Regions from separate parts of the Homo sapiens genome. Here regions 1, 2, 3 and 4 are each linked to region 5. The links are contacts of gene promoters, found by promoter capture Hi-C in human tissues and cell types (Jung and others, 2019). All regions are on one chromosome and are shown on one strand. Each heading gives the region's core, a stretch centred on a gene start or on the middle of the fragment in contact. The rest is flanking DNA. Distances are from core to core; before and after follow the strand shown. Region 1 overlaps LOC105369468 (a long non-coding RNA gene). Region 2 overlaps LOC105369468 (a long non-coding RNA gene). Region 3 overlaps GRIA4 (glutamate ionotropic receptor AMPA type subunit 4). Region 4 overlaps MSANTD4 (Myb/SANT DNA binding domain containing 4 with coiled-coils). Region 5 holds the start of GRIA4 (glutamate ionotropic receptor AMPA type subunit 4).

The links. Contacts are between HindIII fragments. The study calls those that stand out against the background at their distance.
Region 1: a contact is called between a fragment that was not itself captured here and the fragment with the promoter of GRIA4 in region 5, in 2 of the 25 tissues and cell types used here (IMR-90 fibroblasts and hippocampus).
Region 2: a fragment that was not itself captured here is called in contact with the fragment with the promoter of GRIA4 in region 5 in 2 of the 25 tissues and cell types used here (IMR-90 fibroblasts and aorta).
Region 3: a contact is called between a fragment that was not itself captured here and the fragment with the promoter of GRIA4 in region 5, in 2 of the 25 tissues and cell types used here (dorsolateral prefrontal cortex and hippocampus).
Region 4: a fragment that was not itself captured here is called in contact with the fragment with the promoter of GRIA4 in region 5 in 2 of the 25 tissues and cell types used here (H1 embryonic stem cells and mesenchymal stem cells).

The regions. Positions count from the first base shown.
Region 1 is chr11:105,190,009-105,192,708 of GRCh38, forward strand. All of the region lies in intron 4 of LOC105369468 (a long non-coding RNA gene), which reads right to left. Among named protein-coding and RNA genes, the nearest start is that of CARD18, 52 kb to the left of the region's middle. The HindIII fragment of the contact is 7,007 bases long and covers 1-2,700 here.
Region 2 is chr11:105,300,724-105,303,423 of GRCh38, forward strand. The region is part of intron 2 of LOC105369468 (a long non-coding RNA gene); the gene reads right to left. Among named protein-coding and RNA genes, the nearest start is that of CARD18, 160 kb to the left of the region's middle. The HindIII fragment of the contact is 4,413 bases long and covers 1-2,700 here.
Region 3 is chr11:105,887,310-105,890,009 of GRCh38, forward strand. GRIA4 (glutamate ionotropic receptor AMPA type subunit 4) reads left to right here. Exons shown (of 17, transcript NM_000829.4): 6 at 210-263. Among named protein-coding and RNA genes, the nearest start is that of MSANTD4, 130 kb to the right of the region's middle. The HindIII fragment of the contact is 7,114 bases long and covers 1-2,700 here.
Region 4 is chr11:106,013,794-106,016,493 of GRCh38, forward strand. All of the region lies in intron 1 of MSANTD4 (Myb/SANT DNA binding domain containing 4 with coiled-coils), which reads right to left. Among named protein-coding and RNA genes, the nearest start is that of MSANTD4, 7.1 kb to the right of the region's middle. The HindIII fragment of the contact is 9,647 bases long and covers 1-2,700 here.
Region 5 is chr11:105,608,637-105,611,336 of GRCh38, forward strand. GRIA4 (glutamate ionotropic receptor AMPA type subunit 4) reads left to right here and starts at 1,437. Exons shown (of 17, transcript NM_000829.4): 1 at 1,437-1,792; 2 at 2,272-2,449. The coding sequence starts at 2,362. RefSeq lists a silencer at 2,413-2,613. The HindIII fragment of the contact is 8,669 bases long and covers 1-2,700 here.

The sequences.
Region 1 (2,700 bases), core at 142-2,641, 420 kb before region 5:
GAAATAGAATAACTCATTATGTAGGATAAGATTAGGATCGAATAAAATCAGAATCTCAGTGGACACCAAGACTGGCAGGAAGGCAAAAAAACACTAGAGTACAAGGAGATTGAGAACAATTTGAGACTAAGAAAGGGTCAGAGAATGGGAGGTTCTTAAAGACAGAGAAGTCAGGGAGTGACATTTTTTAAGTGATTTGTGGTCATCAAGATCAATGTCACTGGAAGGATTACATTGTTTCTGGCACAACAGTGGTTATTGGTGACTTCACAAGAGCACTTTTAATAGAATACAACAAATATAAAATATATTACTGGAAACTAAGTGAAGATTTTCAATTTTATAAATGGTGCATAGGCAACAGGCATTTCTGGTCTCTCTGAAAACCCAACTAAAGTGACATTAAGTTATTTTTGAATATATATAAGCAAAAAATCAAAGAAAACAGATTTTAGTACATAAAATGTTATTTTTGGAATATAGAAAGCATACAGATGAATAGTAACTGAGTGTATACATGAAAAATCCAGAACATGACAGCTTGGGTAATGACAATTTAAAAAAATCATGATTTATGGTACAGAACCATGGAAAGTGTCAAAAATTGGAGTCGCAAATTATCTCTGAAAGCCAGAGTGTGAAGTGGGACAGAAAACAAAAGATTTGTTGAAAGTGTCTTTAGGAGCAGGTAGCTGCCCTGATGTTCTCCCCAAGTCCAACAAACTAGTCAATTGCCCTTTCTTGAGCTCTGCAGGAAAAAAAAAAAAAAAAAAGGATTATTCTCTGAAGATGTTGAATTACAGAGACTGTGAATTGGAGACATCTTGACCAGCTAAGGTCAAAGATGAGGCACCCCCCTGGACACATGGAACCAGGCGATCGAGGGTGTACTGAATGGAGGTCCTCTTGCCCCCATGGCTGCCTGCCTCCCACTACTCTGGCCTCTATGCTTTTCTGTTGTTGGCAGATGACTGGAGGATTTCTTTCTGAGGAAACTGCCCTGTAGAATAGAGAACTACAAATTCCCCGCAACGTGAAGTTTACCTACACAACAATCCTGCCCATGTACCCCTAAACCTAAAATAAAAGGTAAAAAAAAAACAACAAAAACCTTGTACCCTACCTAAATACAAATTCATGATTAAACAAGCCATTACCACATACATAAATCTTCCTATTAGAATGTTAGGACCTACTTATTTTGATTGGACAGCCAAGGATCACCAGGTATTTGAGAAGCTCCTTAAAAACAAAACACAAAAAAATGCACATGAAAATCCAAAGATAGAAAAAAGAACAAATAAAAACATCAGAGATCATATGGGGAATAAAAAACACTCATATAAAATTATAATTCTCATCTTCAAATCTAAAAATACTATATTACATTTATGATATGAGAGTATTCAGAGAATACAAATTTTTAGAAATGTGAAATCTTTTGACAAAAATAAAAACAAATGATTGAAATGTTGAAAAGCAATGAATAGAAAATTTTGCAGGTGAAAAAAATAATTTTAAAATAATAGAATTCTAAAAGGTTAACAACAACAACAACAACAAAAGCTCAGTCTAACAGGCCAACTAATGAGTTCCACTGAGAGAGACAATGATGGGGAGGATATTATGAAAGCATCACTTAAGAAATTTTTCCAGAATAGAAGGATAAGATTTTCCACAAAAAAAAAGGGTCCACTGAGTATCCACAATGTGACTCAGATTCATCAATACTCATGACTACTCTTCATAACTATACAATTTCAGGACATTTGGGAAAAGTCCTAAGAGCATCTGGAAAGGAAAAAAATGGGTTACATACAAAGGGCTTATACAAAGGAATAAAAATGACTTCTTACTTCTAACAAGCAACACTGGAAACTAAAAAAGAACTGAACAATGGATTCAGTTTCTGAGGGAAAGTCTTTTCTCTCCTGGAAGTCTATGAATCTCACTGCAAACTAAATGCAAGGATAAAAATATTTTCAAACATGCAAGGGCTTAAATTAACTTTCTCTGTGCACCTTTTTCTGTGTTACAGAGTATCTATAGAACATTGTTGAAGTATATATTTCATAAAAAACGAAGGAATAGATTTAGGAAGGACCCAGGAATCAGGGCATTTAACACAAAAGGGTGTAAAGAGGAGACTAGAGAAAAATCCAGTTTAGACTGGAACAAGAGGAGTAAAGATTTCAGGAGAGATATTTCAAACACACACATGTACACACACACACTGGTTTCTTTGTAGTCAAATACATAAAGTAATTTATCAGTTCTTCTTGTGTGCATATGTGTGAGTGTATAAGGTAGTGCAGGGATGTGAAAAAGAGCCATATCCTCATTCTTCAAGCTAAGAAACCAAAAGATATTATCTAAAAATACTTAAAACCACTAAGTAGCAGTGAAAACTCAGTATTTAAAATATGCAGTTTAAATGTATAGTCTATGGGAAATTACATTGGAATATTCAAAATTCAATTAATGACATGAGACATCTAAAGTTTTTTACACATTAAAAAAGGTAAAGCATATATATTAAATATCTCAAAGTACAACAGAAATTTTCAAAAAAATATACTGGAATGAAAAGAAAATGTCTACGTAATAATTTTCACCAAACCATAATATCAACAAATGCTGAAAATAATAATTCTTATAAATGATATATTATTTCCCATATTTCAGGAAGCTTAATCCACT
Region 2 (2,700 bases), core at 17-2,516, 310 kb before region 5:
TCCTAGTGCAGGCTCTGACCTCTATTATTTATGCCATGCCACTTAATTACCTTGAGCCTTAATTTTCTGATTTTAAAATCCAAGGTTAATATGTATTTGATCAACTCACTAGATTGATATATGTTGATAACATTAGGTTAGCATGGTTCACCCAGGTTATATAAATTCTTTTACAATTGGAATAGAATTCAGACAACATGAAAGAAATTACTATTCAAAGTATTCACCCTGAAGAAAAAGCAAACTATGATGCAAGCTACAAAGGTATACTGTTTAGTAGTTTGAAAAGGAAAGTAAACACGATTTAATTGGAAAATGAAGAATAGCCTATTAAGAGAATGGGGAAGGCCCATGTAAGGAAATTGTCCTCTTAGGGGTTTACACTATACTGATTTTAAGGTCACATTAACACTAAAACCCAATCATGAAGTCACTTTCTTAAATGTCTACTGTGATTCTAGCATTACCTTTAGTGCCAAAATAATAGACATAGCTCCCATATTCAAAGAGGTATCTGCATGGCTGTAATAATAAAGGGCAAATAATACAAAGGGGATAAAAATGAACTCCATGTTCTGGGAGAGGTCCCATTAGAAACATTTTGCTGGTCAGCTTTGCAAATCAGGCATCTCCCCCAGAATCCTGCATATGCAACTGTGTGATGCTTCTAACAAAGTGACTGTTCGCCAGTCATTTTGTGGTTCTTTGGTACCACTATTCCTGTTATGTTCCCTAGTTTTAAGCTGTTAATGTATTTATTTTTTTCCATTATGATAAAATACCCATAATATAACATTTATGATTTTAACAATTTGAAAATGTAAACTTTGGTGGCATTTAATACATTCACAATGTTGTGTAATCATCACCAATACCTACTTCAAGAACATCCTCATCCTAAAGTAAACTATGTACTCATTACACAGGACTTCATTGTTCTTTCTTCTCTCAGTCACTGGTAACTACCAATCTGCTTTGTATACTTTAGATTTTTATGTAAATGAAATCATACAATATGTGGCCATTGAATTTAGCTTCTTTCACTTAGCCTACTGTTTTCATTCTTCATCCATGTTTTTGTGACAGAAATATTCCACTGTGCATATGTGTATGTGTGCATGTGCACACTCACCCACAGTGCACACACCATGTTTTGTTGCATGCACACATCACATTTTGTTTATCCATTAATCAACTGATGGACATTTGAGTTGTTTCTACCTGTTTACTGTTGCAAATAATCCCGCCATGGATACATGTACAAAGCTATATTCAAAAAAGCTGTTATCATTTTAATGACCCCTTTCATCTTCTATAATAAGACTAAGCTCTTCTCTAAGTGTGATGTCAGCCTCCTTATGCCTTTCTAGACTCTGCTGCTACTACTAGCTCTTTTTATGCAACACCACCCAAGTCTTACACAAACCCTATAACCAAGTCTGCCACACACCTCATGCTTTGCCACTGCCTGAAATGTCCTCATTAGGCTGTTGCACATTTACTTTCTAGCTTTTCTAGAAGCAGCTCAGTCATCATTTCCTGCTGGAAGCCAGGTCTTCTTTGTGTCCTTCTGCTCATCTGGCCCATGCATGCATTAATCAATAGGCCAATTCCAGTCTGTTCCACTCATTTATGTGCCTACAGGTCAGTCTCTTCTAAGTCATGAGTTTCAGTGAGGTATAAAGTAAGTCTGATTCATCTGTGAATCCCAGCAGAGAATTTTACCACATAGTAGATATTCCATAAATGTTTGATGAGTGAATGTATTAAATGTAAAGATGAATGGCATTTGTATTCCATGAAGCAAAAGAAGAGCTCTGCAGTTATTCAATTCTCTCTTTAAGCAGCATTTGCCATCTCTCCTTATGTCTCTCTACCTCAGACAATTAATATTTCAAGCTCACCTCCTGAAAACAGACTATAGAAAATGACCAAGATCTAGGGAAGAACAATGGATATGGTCAGAAAAGATAAGTATGAATTATGGCACTTCCATCCTTATCTCCTAGGGTCCATGTCAATTCACTTTGCTTGCTGAGTCTCTAATAGAGGCTAAAGTCAGCTCAAGAACAATATTAAAAGTCTCAGCTTTAGTGTCAGTTCAGCTCCCAGACAATGGCCATGTGATGTCCAGCTACATATTTATTTTGACTCAATAATATAAAATATTCAGTGGAGTAGCTTATAATAATACTTTTTACCACATAGATTAAAATATATTCAAAATGTATTCAATCCATCAATTCTTAATTGGCTATGCTAATAGAAGACAAAACTGTATGTTCTGCTTAAAGTGGTAACCTCTCATCATGCCCTCATTGAAACAAATTATATTTTTTAGACATGATAAAACTCAATAATTACTTCTGAGAAGTGTTTCTGGCTCTTCCAGTCTAATTTAAATGCCCTTCTTTTCTGCCCTCATTGCACCTTTGTCTTTCTTATCTTTCTTTCCCATAGCATCTGCCATTGTCCTGTGTGCCTTGATATATTTGTCTCTGTTTCCTAGTAAGTCATAAGTTTTGAGATGACAGAAGCCATGTTTTACCCACAGTGATTAATGCCATCCCTATACATAGAAGATGCTCAATCAATGATGTTGAATGAATGTCATACACATTTAATCGAGTTTGACAGAGACCTGATATTAGTATCACAACAGTGAAACAGTTAAGTAGTCATAAGCACTAGATTTAAGCC
Region 3 (2,700 bases), core at 171-2,670, 280 kb after region 5:
TGATTTAAATAAAAGTGGTACTTTTTACCACTTATTCTGAATATGGCTTATCAATTCTTCTAACTATAGTACGTGACTTTTATTTTTTAAAAAACTATCATTTTCCCATCATGATTCTACATGGAATTATGCTAAAATAGATAATAATTTTAAAATAATATTTCAGTGAATTAAAATTGATTTTCTCTTATTTGCTTATATCTTCACAGATTGTAAGTGTTGGAAAGCATGTTAAAGGCTACCATTATATCATTGCAAACTTGGTAAGAACTTCTTATTTTCTACTTTTCATAAGAATTGCTCAAGCACACAAGATTATTTTAACTGTGCCTTAAATAATGCTTCAATAAATAGAGTACATTACTTACTAAGCTTTTAATAACACATGATATTTTATTACAATGATCATTAAATTTCACCAGTAGAATTCAATATATTTTTATGCAGATTAGCTTGGTATCTGCTAAAGAGACCTTTAAAAGAAATGATAATGGTTACTTTGCTACGATACCACTTGTCAAATTAAATAATTTTCTCTGTCTAAATGATAAATGCTACTTTATAGACAAAGATAGCCAATATTTGGATATTATAAGAATGATCTAAACTAATAGCTTATGTTCTCTAATTTTAAGAATAACTGTATATAATGGCTATATAAGCAAATCTTTTAAATGGGAGTAATCCAAATTTTTAAAAATTATGTCAACTTTTCACATATCATATAGAAATGGCTAACAAACAAGATACACATATTTTTATGAAATTCTTAAAGGTCTGAGAGAAATCCTTTTAGATATCTTGGCAAGGCTCATTGAATATGTCTTGTTAACCATGTAGTGTAGGGGGTAGATTATGTATGGAGCGGCCCAGCCTCTCTTGCTTTATTATAGAGTACCATTTGCCCTAAGGGCCTGATTCCCAAAGTGATTTATATTGGAGAAGTTAAGGATGTTTTCTCCTTTTTTTTTTTTTTTTTTTTTTTTTTTTTTGAGACGGAGTCTCACTCTGTCGCCCAGGCTGGAGTGCAGTGGCGGGATCTCGGCTCACTGCAAGCTCCGCCTCCCGGGTTCACGCCATTCTCCTGCCTCAGCCTCCCAAGTAGCTGGGACTACAGGTGCCCGCCACTACGCCCGGCTAATTTTTTTTTGTATTTTTAGTAGAGACGGGGTTTCACCGTTTTAGCCGGGATGGTCTCGATCTCCTGACCTCGTGATCCGCCCGCCTCGGCCTCCCAAAGTGCTGGGATTACAGGCGTGAGCCACCACGCCCGGCCTCCTTTTTCTATTTTTATGACACTTTTTTTTAATGACTATCTTGCGCTTGAAACAGGAAAGAAACTAAAGGATGCAAAAGAGATTCAGATCTACCCATTCTTTCCGTATGGCAAGTGGACTGTCAGACTTTGAGACAGGAATTTTCGGTCTTTAGTGAACTGGGTTTGGTTGTGGATCTGAGATATTAAAATACAGCAAAATACTGTGAACCATGATTATATTGTGTTTCTTAGATAAAGTATAATCTTGCGACTTAATGGATTATCATGAAAATACTGAGAAATTTTGACTTGTCTTTTTCATTGCTTTTTAGTAGGCTGTTTTAGTAGAGTGTTTCACTATTTTTTATAAAAATATAAAATTTAAGACAAATATATTCTGATATTAATTACTATAAGAGAAAAAAACTTAGGATTATGAGATAACTAAGTACAGTGAAATGTACAATGAGACTCTAATGACTTTTATAGCAAATAGGTTTTGTCATCTATTCTTACAAACAATAGAATTGAGGGGAAAAAAATCAATGTGTTATATGTAGATTATCATTCCAGAAATGAGTTGCTGACATTGGCAATTAAAATAAATAAATCAATACAAGATGGAATGAATTAATATTTGTAATACTACAAAGGATATCGTAAACAGCCCTAGGAGATGGCAGTGTATTTAAGTTATCTAGCGTTCCAGTATATGAAGTAGAAAACCATTTTTGTTTGCAGTAGGGACTAGAACCATCACTTTCACTAAAAATCAGCAAGTTTTATTATATGTGGTTGATATCTTTGTAACACATGATTAGATCAGTGGCTGCCATGGACATACATTATAATACAGTGTATTAATATGGATTCTATTGACTTATTCATTTATCCCTAAAGGACTATTACTTATAACACTAGAGTAGTTTTTATTTTATTGAGCCAATCAACAACTATTTTTGAGAGCTATGTGCATAAGATTCTCAAATGTGAAGTCAATCCAGAATCAAAATGAAAAATTACATCAACATCATACTTAAGGTTGAAAGACTGAATGATTTTCCCCTAAAATCAGGAACAAGATAAGAGTGTCCTCTCTCACCACTTCTATTGAACGTTGTACTGAAGGTTCTATTACAGATATTTAGGTAAAATCAATAAAAGGCATCCAGATTGAAAAAGAAGATTATATGTATATAAAAATACTAAGGAATCAAAAAATATTTATAGAACTAGTAAGTTCCACAGGGTTGCAGAATGCAAGGTGAATATACAACAGTTTATTGTATGTCTATATGCTAGCAATAATATTCTAAAAATTAAACCAAGAAAATATTTCATTGATAATTTACAATTACAATTTACAATTAATGGAGAACTGCTATACTTAAACCAACTCATCAAGGGTGATTTAACAGTATTAGTAAAAAACTGATTTCTAC
Region 4 (2,700 bases), core at 53-2,552, 410 kb after region 5:
GGAGGTTGCAGTGAGCCGAGATTGTGCCACTGCACCCCAACCTGGGGGAAACAGTGAGACTTTGTCTCAAACAACAACAACAACAAAAAAGTGTTGCTAAGGTAAGTTTTGAGATGTCATTTAGTAAAAGATTTTCAAAAGGAGACTCTTACCTATGTGGAAGGTCCAGATAAAATTCTTTCAATCGGTTACATTTCCTCTACCTCCTGTTAAAGTAAATTAGACCGGAGACCTGGCCTGAAGAATCCCTAAGCAGACAAAACCAGTTAGGCCTCATAAGAGACTTTAACCTTGCTTCATTTGCAAACATATGCAACACTTAACTTGGGCTATTTTTTTGGTAAATATCGATATTTTTTAAAAAAGAAACTTAAGACTAAGCAATCAGAAGCTGTCAGCTAACTTATGCAACTAACTTATGTAACCTTCCAGCAGGATAGGTCAAATTAGACAATCTTATAACTGTAACCAATCAAATATTTACTTTGTTTTACTTCTGTTAGACCTATAAAGCCTCCCCGCTTTGTGTTTCCACTGCAGAGCCCCCAAACCACTTCTGGTTTGGAGCTGCCTGATTCAAGAATCACTGTTTGCTCAAATAAACTTGTTAAAAGTTATCATGTCTCAGTTTACCTTTTAACACATGGTTTCTTTTCTCTTACTCTGTCTGCCAATTTAAACTTTTCATTAGTGTGAAAAATAGTTCTACTCTAATTCACAATACAAATAGTATCTTCTACTGAAGCAAAAATATAGCAATTAAGCAAGGCTAAATTGAATAAGAAAATGCACATCTTTTCTATCATCTTTTCTCTTTTAGACTGAAAAGTGGATGCTAATACCTTATTTTTAAACTTAATAACAAAGCATTTCTTATCACCATTGCATTAAACCTTTATGCATTTTTCCTTTTCAAGCTCTTGGTATTCTTTCTTCAGCTGACTTTGTACGTGTCTAATAACATCAACAAATATATGCCCATCACCACATCTTTGTTTCCAATCACTCATGTGGAATAACCATCTCCTGAACTGCCACTTGCTGCTGAAATAGAGGTCAGAAAACTAAAAATTCAAAACAGCTGAAATGAACTCTCAAGAAATCACTGTCAATTTCACATACCCACAAAAAAGGGCAACGTATGCAAAAACAAAAGAAAAGAAGACTGCAAGCCAACTATTTCTAAAGTAGACTTATAGACTTTGAAAATTTCTCAAGAGAAATTTAATAATAAAATTGAAATCCACAAAATTGGAATGTATAACCAACAATAGCACTCTTGATACTGCCCTAGAGATATACTCCTCTTACAGTCAAATGTAAACCTTTATCCTCTAGAATATAAGCAAATAATATAAGCAAAGTTTATCTATAAATAGAAACATCAAAAGAGGTAGTGTGTGTAGTAGTTATGAGCACAGATTCTGGAGTCAGACCACCCGGGTTAGAGTCCTGGCTCTGGCAATTCCTAGCTGTGTGGCCTCAGTTACTTAACTTCCCTATGCGTAATTTTATTTGTAAAATGATAATAACATTACTTCATAGAAATCCTATAAGGATTAAAGGACTTAGTCAAACAAAGAGAACAGTTCCTGGTGCACATTAAGCACTATTATGTATTTGCCACATCAAAGGCAAAACATTTAAATAACTTTGACAAAAGGAAACAAAAATGTCACAATAATATTGGAATTGTTTAGTTCCTAAGTTGAGGGATAGGTCCCATGGGTCTTTATTATTATGCTTCATAACATATATACTTACATTAGGAGTGTGGTGGAACCTGCCCATGAGAGCTCTCAAGAATCAATTGCGGACATCTCTTTGCAACTCCACATTCAGCCATGTCATGTTAGGAGCTAAAAATTGGCCAAGACGGCACTTACTAATACTACAGAATTGTCAAATTAGAACTTTTTTTTTTTTTTGAGTGGGCAGAGAGCTGCTTTATTAGAACACTCCAGCTATATTATTTTTGTGTAAATCAAATATTATCTAATAAATAAAAGAAAATGAAATGTTTTAACATCTGATTCCAAGGCAGTTTAGTGAACACTGTAGAATGCTTATAATTTTATTTTATTTTTAGAGACAGGGTCTCACTCTGTTCCCCAGACTGGAGTACAGTGGCTCAATCATAATTCATTGCACCCTCAAACTCCTGAGCCCCAGTGATCTTCCCGCCTCAGCTTCCTGAGTAGCAAGGCAGGTGCACCACCATGTACTACTAATTTTTAAAGCTTTTATATAGACAAGGTCTTGCTATGTTGTCCAGGCTGGTCTTGAACTTTTTGCCTCAGGTGATCCTCCTGCCTTAGCCTCCTAAAGTGCTAGGATTACAGGTGTGAGCCACCATGCTGAGCCTAGAACACTTAAATAATTTTAGAGGATCACATTTAATTAATACTCTGGCCTAACATTCCTATGTAATTCAAATTATCCAATAGCTTGGGCAAGCATTCAGCTTTCCTCTAGAGGTGACTAAAAATATTCATGAGGTACCATGTTTATAAGCCACAATATAAAAAACTGAAGCAAAGTGATTTACACACATCATTAAACCAGCCCCAATATGCTGCTTCTTAGTACCCTATGTTGCAGGACAAGTGAAAGAATTATTGGTCAAAACTTGGCTTTTTCCTTCTACAATCTGCCCCACCTCTAAGGACCTAGGAGATAGTCGCCCATCTGCTCTAAAAA
Region 5 (2,700 bases), core at 187-2,686:
TTTTTAACACAGAAAAATAAAAAAAGGAAAAATGCTTCAAATTTCACTTGACTTGCAAGACTAAAACTTCACAAACTAAAATGACAAATGTATGATTTGTAAAATACAGTTACAATTAGGTTTTTTTTTTCATAACAATCTGTGGTGAAATGTAACGGGAAAGCAGACACTTATTTTAAAGATGCAATTTTAAAAATAAAATTCAAAACTTAGGAAATAGAAAAGCACTCAAGTTTTAGCAGGGATTTTAAAATGTCATCTACAAACTACAAATACAGGTAATCAGTGACACCAAATAAAGTATTTTGAAAGAGTTAAGGTAATGTATATTTCAAAAAGCCGTTACCAGGCTTTCTGTAAGTCCCTTGCAAGAATTCCACTTTAAGCATTGTAGTCTCAAATATTATATCAGGCAAACCTAGGCATTTGCTATATTCTTTTTAAAAATTTAATGGCAGACATCACCCTAGGTTCCCTAACGTTTAAGGAGAACCTCTCCTTCTAATGATTCTCTCACACAGCTTATTGGAACAGGAGATTGTATTTACTAACTAGATCAGGAAATCTCAAACCATACAGAGGAAATCAGAAACCGGTCACTCACGGCTACCACAGTGACTGCTTCTGAGTGTGGTTCAAGCTCAGTCCAGGACAGGCAGATGAAAGGACAATCTTAAAGGTGACTCTGGAGAGCAAGTGAGACTGTAACCCCAAAACTTTCTAGGATAATTCATTTTCACTTCTACCCAGTCAAAACAACTATTGACATCATCACTGAAGTGCTTAAGTCTACCTGGAGGTGGCGTGGAGCAGAGTGAGCATTCCAGAGTCCCAGACAAGAGGAGATGTGCACGAAACACTATCTTCCTGTCAGACACCTGTGCCCACTGCCCCAAGCACTGCCCCTCTGGTCCTTCATCAGCCTTTGCGCTGTGTCCCTCCTGCTCCTGCAATGGGCCACAGCACAGAAGGAAAGAGTCCTCCGGAATGGGTGACTGTATAGAAAGCAATCGAATCTTTAATCACTTTTCCTACTTTACACTTCACGCAGTTCTTATTCCTATCCCTGCTTCATGCCTTTCCAAGAGAATGTTAGAGGCCTCTTTCAATTTTCATTTCTCAGTCTTTTCCCCATCCCGTTCAGTACCCTAAACTTCGTCAGTTATTTAAAATAACCTTTTACCCCCTCCTCCCCTTCCCAGGATGTTTCAACTTCTCTGGCTCTCTTCCCCATCCTTACCTCCTCCAATTCTTTCATCCTGGTCCTGGCCTCTTAAACCCGCCAGGGGCTGCCCTTTGCCTGTCTTTTCTCCTCCCATCCCTCTCTGAACCCTTTCACCTCATCCATTCCCTTGTCAGGCTCTCCAGATTCCCGGGCTGTTTGCTGGTGAGAAATCTTTGCTGCAGCGAGGACCGGAGTCCCCCGCGCGCAGCCCAGTGGCAGAAGAGGGCTAGGCTGAGAGGGAAGCCAGGACTGTAGGAGAGGGAGGCAGCCCGTCCTCCTCACGAACCTGCAAGGATGCGGCAGGGGCCTGGGGGCATGGGGAGGTACTAACCCCCCGGAGCCCCCGATTGGGGCTTGCAGACCTGGCCCGTGGGCGGATTTTCTGCCTAGCGCAGCCGAGAAGCAGAGGTGCCAGGAAAACCAAGAGAGGGGCGCTGGGGGTGCCCATCCCCAGAGTCGGTCCCTCTGCGAACCGAGGAAGAAAAGAGGAGGGAGTCAGCGAGTGGTCAGAAGGGAAAACCTGACACCAGACTGGCTCCGGAGCGTCCGGGAGACTGGGGCGCTCCGGTGAGCACCCAGGGGGTGAAGCCAGCCGAGCGGTGGGCGAGGGGCGTGCGGAGGGAGTGCGCGCTCGAGGAGGGGACGCCAGGAGGGCAGCGATGCTCCGGGCTGGTGCAGGCTTGCTGGGGGATGTCGGCTGATGCGAGCTGGAGAGCGCGTGTGGCGGCCGCGGCGCCAGTGTTTGTGTGTATGTGAGAAAGCAAGGGGCGAGCGCGAGTGCGAGTGAGGCAAAGATAGAGCGCATGTCTCATCCCTGCGAGCAGCCACTAGACGCTCCACCACCATCTTTTGCATGTGCAACATTTGCAGCCGGACAGAAAACCTCTCCCAGGGCTATGGAGACTGCGGGAAAAATCTGGCGGCTCGCGATGGATTGCTAAGGAGAACTAGTCATAATCTTAAACCACCGAAACCTCTTTCCTTTTTTTTCTTTCTTTTCTTTCTTTTCTTTTTTTTTTTTTTTTTTTGGTTGATTTTAATTTTAGCGCCATCGTCTTCAATGCTTCTCTGAACAGCCTTTAGGAAGAGTGCGAGAGAAAGAGAGAGAGCGCGCGCCAGGGAGAGGAGAAAAGAAGATGAGGATTATTTCCAGACAGATTGTCTTGTTATTTTCTGGATTTTGGGGACTCGCCATGGGAGCCTTTCCGAGCAGCGTGCAAATAGGTAAGGTGTGCTCCGATGGGGTGTGCATGTGGCTGGTTGTAGCAGATATCCGAAAGTGAGTTAAATGAGTTGCTGATAAGCAATTCAGGGAAACCTTCAGCAGTTCCCTTCCCCTCTGTTTCCCTCCTCTTCCTTTCTCTCCTTTGCAAAAAGACTTCCTCTTTAGTGCAGGTTCCGTTGGAATACACCCAGGGCAGCCCACCCATGCGTTCTCAGCCCATAGCCCTATTTCCACCTTTACCTATAGTCGC